2 separate regions of the Homo sapiens genome follow, and region 2 is linked to region 1. The links are contacts of gene promoters, found by promoter capture Hi-C in blood cells and fetal thymus (Javierre and others, 2016). All regions are on one chromosome and are shown on one strand. The core of a region is centred on a gene start or on the middle of the fragment in contact, and the rest is flanking DNA. Distances in the headings are between cores, read along the strand shown.

What was found. The method cuts DNA at HindIII sites, captures the fragments that hold promoters and counts their contacts. A CHiCAGO score of 5 or more calls a contact.
Region 2: a contact is called between a fragment that was not itself captured here and the fragment with the promoter of POP5 in region 1, in 1 of 17 cell types (fetal thymus). The highest score is 5.4, in fetal thymus.

What each region holds. Positions count from the first base shown.
Region 1 is chr12:120,578,764-120,584,955 of GRCh38, forward strand. POP5 (POP5 ribonuclease P/MRP subunit) reads right to left here and starts at 2,639. Exons shown (of 5, transcript NM_015918.4): 1 at 2,580-2,639; 2 at 2,352-2,494; 3 at 1,011-1,160; 4 at 751-834; 5 at 1-649. The coding sequence starts at 2,599. The coding sequence ends at 555. RefSeq lists silencers at 5,702-6,071, 6,102-6,171. The HindIII fragment of the contact is 2,825 bases long and covers 1-2,665 here.
Region 2 is chr12:122,520,923-122,527,114 of GRCh38, forward strand. It overlaps RSRC2 (arginine and serine rich coiled-coil 2), which reads right to left and starts at 6,014. Exons shown (of 10, transcript NM_023012.6): 1 at 5,926-6,014; 2 at 1,221-1,377; 3 at 463-506. The coding sequence starts at 5,931. RefSeq lists an enhancer at 5,694-6,153. The HindIII fragment of the contact is 2,111 bases long and covers 3,888-5,998 here.

The DNA.
Region 1 (6,192 bases), core at 1,389-3,888:
CAAAAATTAGCCAGACGTGGTGGTGCACGTCTGTAATCCCAGTTACTTGGAAGGCTGAGGTGGGAGAATTGCTTGAACCCAGGAGGCGGAGGTTGCAGTGAGCCGATACTGGGCCACTACACTCCAGCCTGGGTGATAGACTGAGACTGTCTCAAAAAAAAAAGTTTAACTAGTACCACATAGGGAGTCAGTCTTCCCACCAAGGCTAGGGATAGAGAGAGAACAGAGACTTGGCCAAGCATGGACTCCATAAGCCCTTTCTGTAATATAAGTATGCTAAATGCCACGGAAACCAGATACATTTATTAAATCTACTCTTAGCCAAGCAATAAAGATGTCTACAGAGTTCACAACCTGCAACACTTCACCAGGGAATGCTAGGTAAAGGCAACTTCAGTTTAACTGAGTACTCCATTTCAAGTGGGTAATGTCTGCTGGTTGGCAGCTATCCAGTTTGGAAAACTGTGGAAGATGCTGTTGCTACCCAGATTGTTCTGTTCAACAAGTGGGCCTGAAGCCTGAGCAGTGTAGCCAGCTGTGTGGGGAGCAGAGGTTCACTCCATTGCTTCTGCAGCCTCCTCACCTGACTCCTCCTCCTCCTCTAATAAGCAGCTTCTTGTCACAGACTTCTGGATAGCTTCCCGCTCTCCTGGAGAAGGCAGATAACAGGGATGAAAGATATCTTTGGGAGTGATTTCTTCAGCTTAAGGTCAGTCACTGCTCAGTGGGCACTGGGCTAGTGTTGCTTACCTTCATCAGTGCAGTTCTGCAACAAGATCAACAGCTGTCTCCTGTTGTACTGAATTAGGAACTTCTGACATGTTCTTATTGTACCTGGCATATGAGTTACTGTGGTCAACAGCTTGTGAAAGATCTCGACCTTACAGACTTTCAGAGGTAGGGGGAAGTGTCTTGTTAGCGGGACAGCAGCAAGACCCACCCACCAGTTTAGACTGAACTGTGAACGTGTCACCAATTGAAAATCAGTAGCCATACCACCTCACTCCTACCTCCCACATGTAATGTGTTGAAAAAGCATGGGTAACGGTGTCCTTTGTTCTCCAAGTATGTGATGAAGGGAAGAGCTGACCACACAAGCTGATAGAATTCTTTTCTGCATCGAAGTAGCACTATTCCAGTATAGGCATTGAGATATCGAACTACAACAGGAAAGAAAAATCATTTTGGAAAACTTTTGCTCTGTGTGGTGGCTCACGCCTGTAATCCCAGCACTTTGGGAGGCTGAGGCGGGCAGATCACTTTAAGTCAGGAGTTCGAGGCCAGCCTGGCCAACATGATGAAACCCCGTCTCTACTAAAAATACAAAAATTAGCTGGGTGTGGTGGTGCGCACCTGTAATTCCAGCCACTCAGGAGGCTGAGGCATGAGAATCGCCTGAACCCAGGAGGCAGAGGCAGCAATGACCCCCGATCTCGCTGCTGCACTCCAGCAGCCTGGGCAACAGCCAGACTGTCTCGAAAAAAGGAAAACTTTGGAGTAACAGAGCCTACTATGTGCCAAAAGTATGTTGTAGGCAAGTGGCACGTAGATCTATCAGCGAGTAAAAGAGAAAAGCCAAAACACCCACTGTGTTGCACACCACTCAGAACTGGTGAATGAATTTAGAATTGAAAATGCTTTCTAATTCACTAGTTAATTCAATAAATAGGAGCAGGTAGGAGGCGATCCGTTTTAATTTAGGAAAAACCCCCACAAAACCCTTGCCTGAAAAACAGGCTGTTTTACTGCATTTGGGCTCCGTAATTATTGTAGCAGTCAGCTCTCAGTCTCACCTGACTTAGGAGAGTTAAGTCTATCTGCATTTAACTCTCCAGAAGTCAATCTCAAACAAGGTTAAAGTGGGAACTAATTTAAGTGGTGTGAAAGAAGGGCCCCTCTGTCCTAGCTCATCCTGTATTTACATATATTGACAATCATGTGTTCTGTACTTTACCAACTATTTAAGGGCTTTCCCGGAGTACTTTTGACAATTTTTTTCCATATGATGTTAATGTAATCGGTCATATAATAGCTCTTACTAGGAAGTATACACAGCTTCCCTCATTTAATTCTCTACCCTATCAAATTCAATCACAACCAATTACAGAAATTACCTGTCAAGCAGGTAAAAAGAGGCTTCTAGCTCAAAGCCCCACTGCCTTCGGGCCCCTCCTTTTAGCGCTCTGCTAATTTCGGACTCTCGCTTGGGGTCCCAGGCGCTTAAAGAGATACCTTACAAAAAACGGTGCACGGGCTTGGCCACTCGTGCCCCTTCTTTCTTCCTCCGGCGCCTGCCCCCTCCACATCCCGCCATCCTCCCGGGTTCCCCTCTTCCCCCAGCGCCCTTGCACCCGCGAAGCCGATGGAGCAGGCGGCTGCGCCGAAAGTTCCGTGCACCCTGGCGATCGTGTCCCGTACGAGGCTGCTCAGAACTCGGTCATCGAGGCTTAGGCGGCAGCGGGGGTCGTCAGACACCAGTTCGCAGAGCAGGTACCTGCGGCAGGCGAGAGGAAGGTGGACACTAGCGGGGCCGCGAGGACCCAGCAAGGCACTGGGAGGGTCTGGAAGGGAATGCTTACCTGTGCTTGAACCGCACCATGGCTGCCTCCGCGCTCTCCGGTCCGGCGTGCAAACCGGATGTGAATTCTGTCCGCTGCCAATGGGAAGCTTGCTTCCGCAGCCTTTCAGCCATTCAGAGAAGGAGACAGGATATTAGGGCGGAGCTAGAAAGTTGAGAGGCCGAAGTCTGTCAGCTCTCTCAAGCCCCGCCCAACTGCGTTTGTAAGCGCGCATGCGTCCTGCGGAGGGTCACTGACTAGTTTGAGGGCTGAACCCCGGGATGGAGCGCCTTGCAGCTGTAATGGATGGTTCTGTTGCACACTGAAGTTTACAATAGTGTGTAGGATGTAGCCGCTACCCTTGGGGCCCTGGGAACCTTGCACCACAGTTATGTATGCGAGTATATTCTCTCCCCAAGGTGAACGGTGGAGCTTTTGAGGGCAAGACCCTGCACCTCACAGCCCAGGCATTGACAAACGGGAAATCGGACTTTTATTTTCAGGTTTGAGCTCAGTTTAATTCTTCCATACAGCTAAATATGCTATTGCTGTTTGGGCCTTTCAGCAATCTTAGGGAGGCGAGTGTGCCGTCTCGTTTTTTGCTCGCAGAAACAATACGTGGTCATTGTATTTTCCATTTCCGTTTACCTTTTTTTTTTGACAGAAAAGCACAAAGAAGCAAATAAATTATAATCCCAGCACTGAGAGAGAATAACTGTTGTCGTGTAGTGTGTTTTCTTCTGTCATTTTCTCCCTGCGCCAGTGGTTCTCAAAGTGCCGTCTGGGGACCACTGAGATTTCCTAAATTCACTCGATTTGGGAGTCCCCGAAGTCAAAATTACTTTCATAATAATGCTAAGATGTTACTTGTCTTTTTCATTCTCTCTGAGTGAACAGTCAAGTTTTCCAGAGGCTGCTTGACGTGATGACGTCACTGCTCTAGGAATTGTGTATTGTTTTTTAAACGTTTCTCAACTTTAATGTCCATAGTAAATATAACCCACAAAACTAAAAGCTCTTGGGCACCCTCAGTAACGTGTGTAAAGGGGTCCTGAGACAGAGAAAACAGCTTGAGAACTATGCCCTCTGTTAAATTATGTTTTTTCTTTTATTTTTAAGTATTTTAAAAAAAATGTCTTATGGGGTATTACATAAAGTACATATTCTTAAGTGTATTCATCTCAATGAATTTTTACATATGGATAGACTTCTATAACCACCTCCAAGATTAAAATAAAGAGCATTTCCAGTATCCCAGAAGGTTCCCTGAGCCCTCTTCCAGTCAAATTGCTTACTGCTATCAGCCACTATTACCACTTCTACCCTGCTAGATTAATTTTGCCTGTTCTTAAACTTTATATAAATGCAGCCAGGAGGCTGGCTGCAACCTCTGCCTCCTGAGTTCAAGCGATTCTCCTGCCTCAGCCTCCCGAGTAGCTGGGATTACAGGCACCTGCCACCACGACCAGCTAATTTTTGTATTTATTTATTTAGTTTTTTGAGACGGAGTCTCACTCTGTTGCCCAAGCTGGAGCACGATCTCAGCTCACTGCAACCTCTGCCTCCTGGATTCAGGCGATTCTCCTGCCTCAGCCTCCCAAGTAGCTGGGACTACAGGTGTGTGCCACCACAACTGGCTAATTTTTGTATTTTTAGTAGGGACAGGGTTTCCCCATGTTGGCCAGGCTGGTCTTGAACTCCTGACCTCAGGTGATCCACCCACCTCGGCCTCCCAAAGTGCTGGGATTACAGGCGTGAGCTACCACGCCTGGCCATTTGGCTATATTTTCATGTCAGCTCTTCAGCGACAATACTGTTTTTTAGCTGTGCAGTATTGCATTGTTTGGACGTACCATTGTGAAGTTGGTCAGTATCCCTTTGGTAGACGTTTACATTATTTCTAGATTTTCTTGTTATACCCAATACTTTGATGCATGGCTTTGTAGCTTAGTCTTTATGCCCATCCCTGATTATTTGTAGAAGTGTCTTGGCCTTGGCTGGTCCTGTGAGGTCCGTAATGGGGGCAGCTTTCACAACCTATTTTTGCAAGATCTGGAATGAGTTCTGAATTTTCCCATCTCCCACTCTTCTTGGCCACCTTAAAGGAGGGATGTGGGGGAAGGTAGGGAAGAAAAGAATAGGAAGAGGGAACGCCGTGGCCCTGCCAAGGGACCAGTGACAGTGACGGCACTCCCCACCCAAGAACAACTTTTCACCAGAAAGTGTCTGCGACATCCTCCTTTGGCCAACAGGGGGCGCCAGAGGTCCGCAGTGCGCGGAGAGAGCAAGACACCCCCAACTCCTGAGCGCTCCACCCCTCATAGAAATTTCACTCCTCCCAGCCTTCATTTCAACAGCAATGCTTCGCCCATTTTATAGATGCAGTTGGGGCTCAGACCAAAGCCTCGTATCCAGTTAGGAGCAGGATCAGAATTCGAACCCAAAGCCAGCTGACTCCTTGTTCTGGTCAACACGGTTGGTGCTCTCCCGTGCAGGATTTCACTCGTCCATTTAGTGTAATAAGATGGAGAGACGACAGATGGAGGTTCGATTCGCTACTCCGTCATTTACTGGCCCGGCCAGGTGCTGTCAGGAGGGTTAATTCATGTCTCAGATCTTAGTTTCCTCATCTGTGCAATGGGATAACAATGGTTCCTCCCTCGTGGGTGGATATGAAGTTTAAGCGGGGTCATGTGGACAAAATGCCTGGCACAGCGAGTGCATAGTAAGCCCTTTTTTTGTTTTTGTTTTTTTTGTTTTGTTTGTTTTTTGAGACTGATTTTTAAGACTGTCTTAAAAACAAGAAAAGAAAAAAGAAAATATAGCCAAACAACAGGAATTTTTTGAGACAGTTTTTTGCTCTGTCGCCCAGGCTGGAGTGCAGTGACGCCATGTCGGCTCACTGCAGCCTCTGCCTCCCGGGTTCAAGCAATTCTCCTGCCTCAGCCTCCAGAGTAGCTGGGATTAAGGCGCCTGCCACGACGCCCGGCTAATTTTGTATTTTTAGTAGAGATTTCACCATGTTGGACAGGCTGGTCTCAAACTCCTGACTTCAAGTGATCCGCCCGCCTCGGCCTCCCAAAGTGTTGGGATTACAGGCGTGTGCCACCGCCCTCGGCAAGTAAACGCTGTTCTGAACAAATGATTTACTTTTCCCCCACAGGCACAGCCCCGGGAGGAAGCACATTGGCACGGCCCGCGGCCTCCCAGTCTTGGACCAGGCCCGGCCCCTTCTGGCCCAGGAGGGTGCAGACGCCGGCGGTGGCCGGGCGGGCGGGCTCCCCGCGGTAATTAGCGCGCGCCGGCTCGGGCTGCGCCAGCCGCTAATTATAAGTCTCCTAATGAGGCCGGCGGCTGTTTGCAATCACCCGGGTCCCCGCTGCGCGGCGCGGGAGGCTGCGGGGGAATCCGCCCGCGGAGGCATGGAGGAGGAGCGGCCGTCTTCCCCGGGGCCCGGAGATCCGCTGGACGGCGACGGGGTGTGCCCCGGCCGTGCCCGCCGCCGGAATGCCGGCCGCGAAGGGGCAGCGGCGGGGGCTCACACCCCAACCCCTCCTCGGTTCTCTCCCCAGCCGGGCCGCAGAGCCATTATCCTCCCCAGGTGAGGAAGCCGATGAGGCTCTGAGAGGTGAGC
Region 2 (6,192 bases), core at 3,693-6,192, 1.9 Mb after region 1:
CAATACTACTATTAGGGAAACTGAACTAGTTTGCAAAAGAAAAGAGAACTCCTGTTATCGTTCATAAGGAAAAAGCAGCGCACAGATATCTAGGGTATTGCTATGTAAAGATGATTGCTGTTTAAAAATCCTGAGCAACTGTCAGGCACCAGGAGACTCGGGACCTCAGATTAATGGAAGCTCTGTGTGACAGGCCTAAAAAAACCAATCATATTCTTCATATGAAATTTTTATTGTGAATATTTTCACAATATAATAAAATTAAAGTTTTGAAGGTACTTTTCACATAAACATCTTCTTCAAAAATGATGAATCAAAATCATGCTTATTTTATAACCCAATAAACCTTTTAAATTTCAAGTTTTGTACTTACCTTGACAACGTCTTATATTCATACAAATCTTTCTACCAGACACTTTATAAGTATTTTAAAGTACCTATTCACTACAAAGTGTTAATTACCTCTTTGCTTCTGCTCCGGCTCCTGTGTTTTCTTCCTTCATTATCTGTGAATACACAAAAAAAATAATCACCATAAACAAAGTTGGAGAAACATTTCATCTTAAAAAACTCTTAATGCTGGAGAAAAATGACTCCCATTAGTCTTCTTCCAATGACTAATTTTTTCATGGCACGGGTGGGATTATTCTACATTAATACAACACACATGTGAAACAAATCAAGCAATCTGAGCAAACCAGGACATAAAGCAGCCTAGATACATCTTTTAAACGGTCATAGACTTTCAGTATTTTACATATATTCTGACCAGCCCATCTAGTTTCCTAGTCTACAGCAAATTCATAAGGGGGTTTAATAGAGAGAGGTAAGCCATTAAGAAAAATAAAAACTAAAGAAAATAAACAGGTTGAATTATATTTGATATGTTCCAACATGGTGAAACCCAGTCTCTACTAAAAATACAAAAATAAGCTAGGCGTGGTGGCGCACGCCTATAATCCCAGCTACTCAGGAGGCTGAGGCAGAAGAACTGCCTGAACCCAGCAGATGGAGGTTGCATTGGGCTGAGAGTGTGTCAATTTTTGTATTTTTGGTCCTGGCTCAGGTGATCTGCCTGCCTTGGCCTCCCAAAGTGCTGGCATTACAGGCTTGAGCCACCATGCCCAGCCAACAAACTAAATGTATGTGTCTTCTTATACAACAGGTCTACATATCTTATACAAATGCTGAGAGTTGTAACCACCTTTAAGAATTCATACCTGACTTTCGTTTTCTTTCTCTTGACCTTGATCGTGATCTTGAATAATGATGTTTTGAAGCTCTAGGAGAAACAGATACTTCTGACTGCTCTTTTTTCTTATCTCTATCTGGTGATGTCTTTTCTGGGGCTAGTCCATCTCGCTCTGTATCACTAGCCTAAAAGTTTAAAAACAAATGATTAAAGTTCTTAATTACATTTTAAATGTTTTCAATTTCTTAAAAGAGGGACAAAGGGAGGGAAGATAGCCCCCCACAATCAATAAATCAGAATGCCTGCTTTCCAAGTAACTAAATGTGCTTTGTACACTAATAAGGCTGAATGGCTTGAAATGACGAACCTGATACTAAAGCAAGACCTACATATTTAGACTGATGTATCTTTAATTTTCTAACGATGATTTGTATAACTTTTAAAACATGGGGTGGGGTGGGGGAGGAATAAGGGCTCCAAGTAGTTCTAATAAGCATTCAAGCAGAGAAAATAGTCCTTTTTAGATGTGTGAATGCATTTAGCTGACTTTACCAATACTTTTAAATTAGCATACATGTCAAACATCAAAAATGAGTTGTTAAAGCTTAAAGATACTCAAGACGATAAAATCTTAAAACAATGCCCTAAGAATATTATAAAATAATAAACAGAAAATTAACTTACCTAAGTGAGAACCTCATCTTAATGTCATTAACCCTCTTTAATGAAAACAGCCCCTTGGCACAGTGCTGCTGCAAAATATGGTCTGCCTCTCCTCACATGTGCTCTGGGCTATGAAAACATTAAGTTGTTTCTGCTTTAAAGCATTTTATAAGTAATTATTACAATATAAATTTTACAAGTTTCAACTAATGCAGAAGGTAGACAATGCTCGGCTATCTGACCAGAGAAGATAACATGAAAATAAAATAATTGATACACCTGGGGAATTGATTACTTAGGAAGGGTTGGCAAGCTATGGTCCTCATTCTGTTTCTGTATGGCCTTGAGCTAGGAATGGTTTTTTACGTTTTTTAAAACTATTTTAGGCATATTTAATAAATAACTTCAGTAAATAGCACTGTAAAGACTGAACTGTTAAAACTAAAGGCACTTAAAACGCCAGTGTTGTGGCTCATGCCTGTAATCCTAGCACTTTGGGAGGTTGAGGCAGGCGGATAACCTGAGGTCAGGAGTTTGAGACCAGCCTAGCCAACATGGTAAAACCCTGCTTCTACTAAAAACACAAAAATTAGCCAAGAGTGGTGGGGCGTGCCTGTAATCCCAGCAACTCAGGAGGTTGAGACAGGAGAATGGCTTGAACCCATGAGGCAGACGTTGAAGTGAGCTAAGATTGCGCCACTGCCCCTCCAGCCTGGGAAAGAATGTGACAGAGACTGCACATGGCCCACAAAGCCAAAAATATTTACCGTCTGGCCCTTTACAGAAACAGTTTATGGACTTTTCACGTATAACATCAAACGGAATCTGGATTGAATAAATAGGGAATCGATAGTCTTCAGCAGGAGGAATCACATTAGAGAACTTCCTCCTTTAGGAAAGTTAGTCCAGAAAATGAATACCAAATATCAAGTACAATAAATGGGGGTATTGTATTTTAACAAATTTTAAACAAGTATCAAGTACAATAAATGGGTGTATTGTACTTTAATAAATGAAGTTGTGAGAGGTCGAGTTACTTCAACAAGTATTTACTAAGGGTCAAAAATGTGCCAAAACCAATGCTAGACTTAGGGAATAAAATGATAAATTAAAAACAGAAAGGTTTTGCAGTTCAATTATGAGATGAAAGACATAAATTACGTGTTATTCCTCTAACAATGGCACAAAAAGAACAGTAAGAAATTAACTACCAGGGAGGCTCTCATGCCAGCATATTGTATATGTACTTATTTCTCCAGTCTGGGTGACTTCTGGAACCATAAAATTTTTATGCTGAAAGGTTTTCACCCCTTAGAATAGAGTTCAACTTTCTCGTTTCACAGATGAGATCCAGCAACATTAGCTGACTTGCTTAAAATGATACTGCATCTCCGTATCTTTACTGTTTACTACTAATAAATAATGCTGTATCATTAAGGATGATTCTGATTTTTCACAATGAATTCTGGACACTTTTTTTTTTCATCGTTATCCTTGAGGACTATTTCAGACTCATTTATTACTTGCTGAGTGTTTGTACAGCTTACACTTGGTAAACAGAAGTGATCTCGAAAATTTTAAGCACCGCTATTACTTCTCTCAGTTGCACGACACTTTTGCCAGAGACAGAATTCCTTAACTAGTGGCAAATCCCATTTACTTTTGCAGAGAACAAGACTAGAATCGAAAACAACCTTCTCATGGAAAATCTAGTGCTTAGCCTAGGCAGTTTTCAGGCAATGGTTTATCTAACTTTAACTTCATGCTTAACATCACAAAGCTGGACAACAGAGAAACCTCCCTGTGACATAGGCTAACTTAAACTTACATCATCAACCATTTTCATCTGTAAAATATACTACAGAGCAACAACAAAAACCATCTTAACACTAAACAAATAGGAATGATAGGTGGTCATTGAGGCCATGGAAAACTTTTATTTCCCTGAGGATATTTTATAGTAGCATAATACAGGTATCCAGGAAAAAAACCTACCAAAAACTGAGTATTAAAATTGCTCTGAAATTTTCTAAGCTTTAATTTAGTACTAATCTATGTGTACACATAAACGTTAACTGCAAAACAGCCTTCTATTCCAGCAGTGGCTCTACGAGGTAGCCACTTTGGTTTCTTATAATTTACATTTTGTTGCAAACTCTAATAACGGCTCGAAACATAGACAAATCTTTTTCCACTGCGAAGGAGGTAAGCACTGGATTGAATACTAGGTCACTTCTCTAGGGGACTGTCTTTTTATTGAACAAGGCACGGCATAAATAAATGTTTAAATTCACTTTTTAAAATACTAGAACCCGGCCGGGCGCGGTGGCTCACTCCTGTAATCCCAGCACTTTGGGAGGCCGAGGCGGGTGGATCATCTGAGGTCAGGAGTTCGAGACCAGCCTGGCCGACGTGGTGAAACCCCGTCTCTACCAAAAATATAAAAAAATTAGCCGGGTGTGGTGGTGGGCGCCTGTAATCCCAGCTACTCGGGAGTCTGAGGCAGGAGAATCGCTTGAACCCGGGAGGCGGAGGTTGCAGTGAGCCAAGATCGCGCCATCGCACTCCAGCCTGGGCGACAAGAGCAAAACTCCGTCTCGAAAAAATACAAAAAAACCTGCAACCCAAGAAAAATAGTATTACTCTTTAAGTATACTGAGGCCCAAAACACTAAACAAAGGAAGACAGTAAAAGAAACGGGTTTAAACTCAATCACCTAAATAATAGAGGGGTATGGGGGAAAAAGAAAATCATCTGCCTAATCCCAGGCATTCCAATCGTTAGGAAGAGCAAACTTTAAAACTATCACTATGTTTAAGAGTCATAATTATTATCGAAAATGATGTAATTTTTTAGTCAGTAAAAAGGAATGCAAAATCTTTACATTTTCCTTTTAACGGAATAAAAATGAGGTAAGCACAAAATAATGTGGATCCGTCAGAATTGGGTATCTTATACACACGCAGGCTTATTGTTCAGAATAGATAATTTACGAACTGTAGCTCCTCTGGGGTCAACGAAGAGTTTTTTTTTTTTTTTTTTTTTTTTTTTTTTTTTTTTTTGAGACGGAGTCTCGCTCTGTCACCCAGGCTGGAGTGCAGTGGCGGGATCTCGGTTCACTGCAAGCTCCGCCTCCCGGGTTCACGCCATTCTCCTGCCTCAGCCTCCCAAGTAGCTGGGACTACAGGCGTCCGCCACTACGCCCGGCTAATTTTTTTGTATTTTTAGTAGAGACAGGGTTTCACCGTTTTAGCCGGGATGGTCTCGATCTCCTGACCTCGTGATCCGCCCGCCTCGGCCTCCCAAAGTGCTGGGATTACAGGCGTGAGCCACCGCGCCCGGCCAACGAAGGGTTTAAATTTAAAGGAACAAGGTCAGTGACAAGACTTAACTGTAACGCTTCTCGGACTTCAAATTGATTACATCACGGGCCACTTCGGAAACCGCGCATCAGTCAGAATTGGTAGTTCCACAACCTTTTAAGTTGAATTTTCACTCCCTTTCAGCAATACCTTCCTAGCTCGTTAATACACAATAATAAGGTTTACACGGACGAACACTAATTGAAATTATGCAACTAGAAGCATCTCATTGAGCGTACAAAAAAAAAAATAGCTACAAGTCGCTCTCTTCTCCCACACTACCCTTTACAGACACTGCCTTTTTGACCCAATACTTTTCAGAGACCACTCCTGATCGTCTTTCTCTTCCCCAGCCCCTTTCTCCACCGCAAATTCTCAGGCCCTAAAAAAAACTTAGAATAAATCACTAGCCAGGGTGAATAAGCGAAAATGGAGGAAGTTCAGTGAGGCGAAAGGAACGTAGGGTTGGGGAAGAGAGGAGGAAAGTTCTGGAAAAAAAAAGGCACTCCCTGCGGCTCCCCACCCCCACCAACACCGCCTTACTTCCCCCTCCCTACAGCAGGCAGCCATGATGGCGGGCGCAGAAGAAGGCCGCGGCGCCATTTTGTCTACACACATACACACGAACAAGGTTCTGGGAGCCGTTCACCCACTGTTGGAACGTAGCAGAAAAATATCCCTGGCTTTAAACTCAGATTCGGTACCTACCGCCATAGTTCAGAGTCCCGGCCGCTAGAGCGGCGCCTCCACTTGTCGCTTTCAACAGTACCGGCCGCTCCGAAGCTTCGCCTCAGACTAAATCGCTCGCGCGAGAGACCCGGATGGCACAAAGGCGAGGAGGCCCGGCGCGTCGCACAGCTTGCTGGGAGAAAAAGGGGCGGTAACAAAAGTTTCTATAACAACGCAATTCGAGGCGGTGATTGGGTGTTCTTTCATAGGGGAGTGTAAAGACCGTGAAGAGGGCGGGGCCAAGAA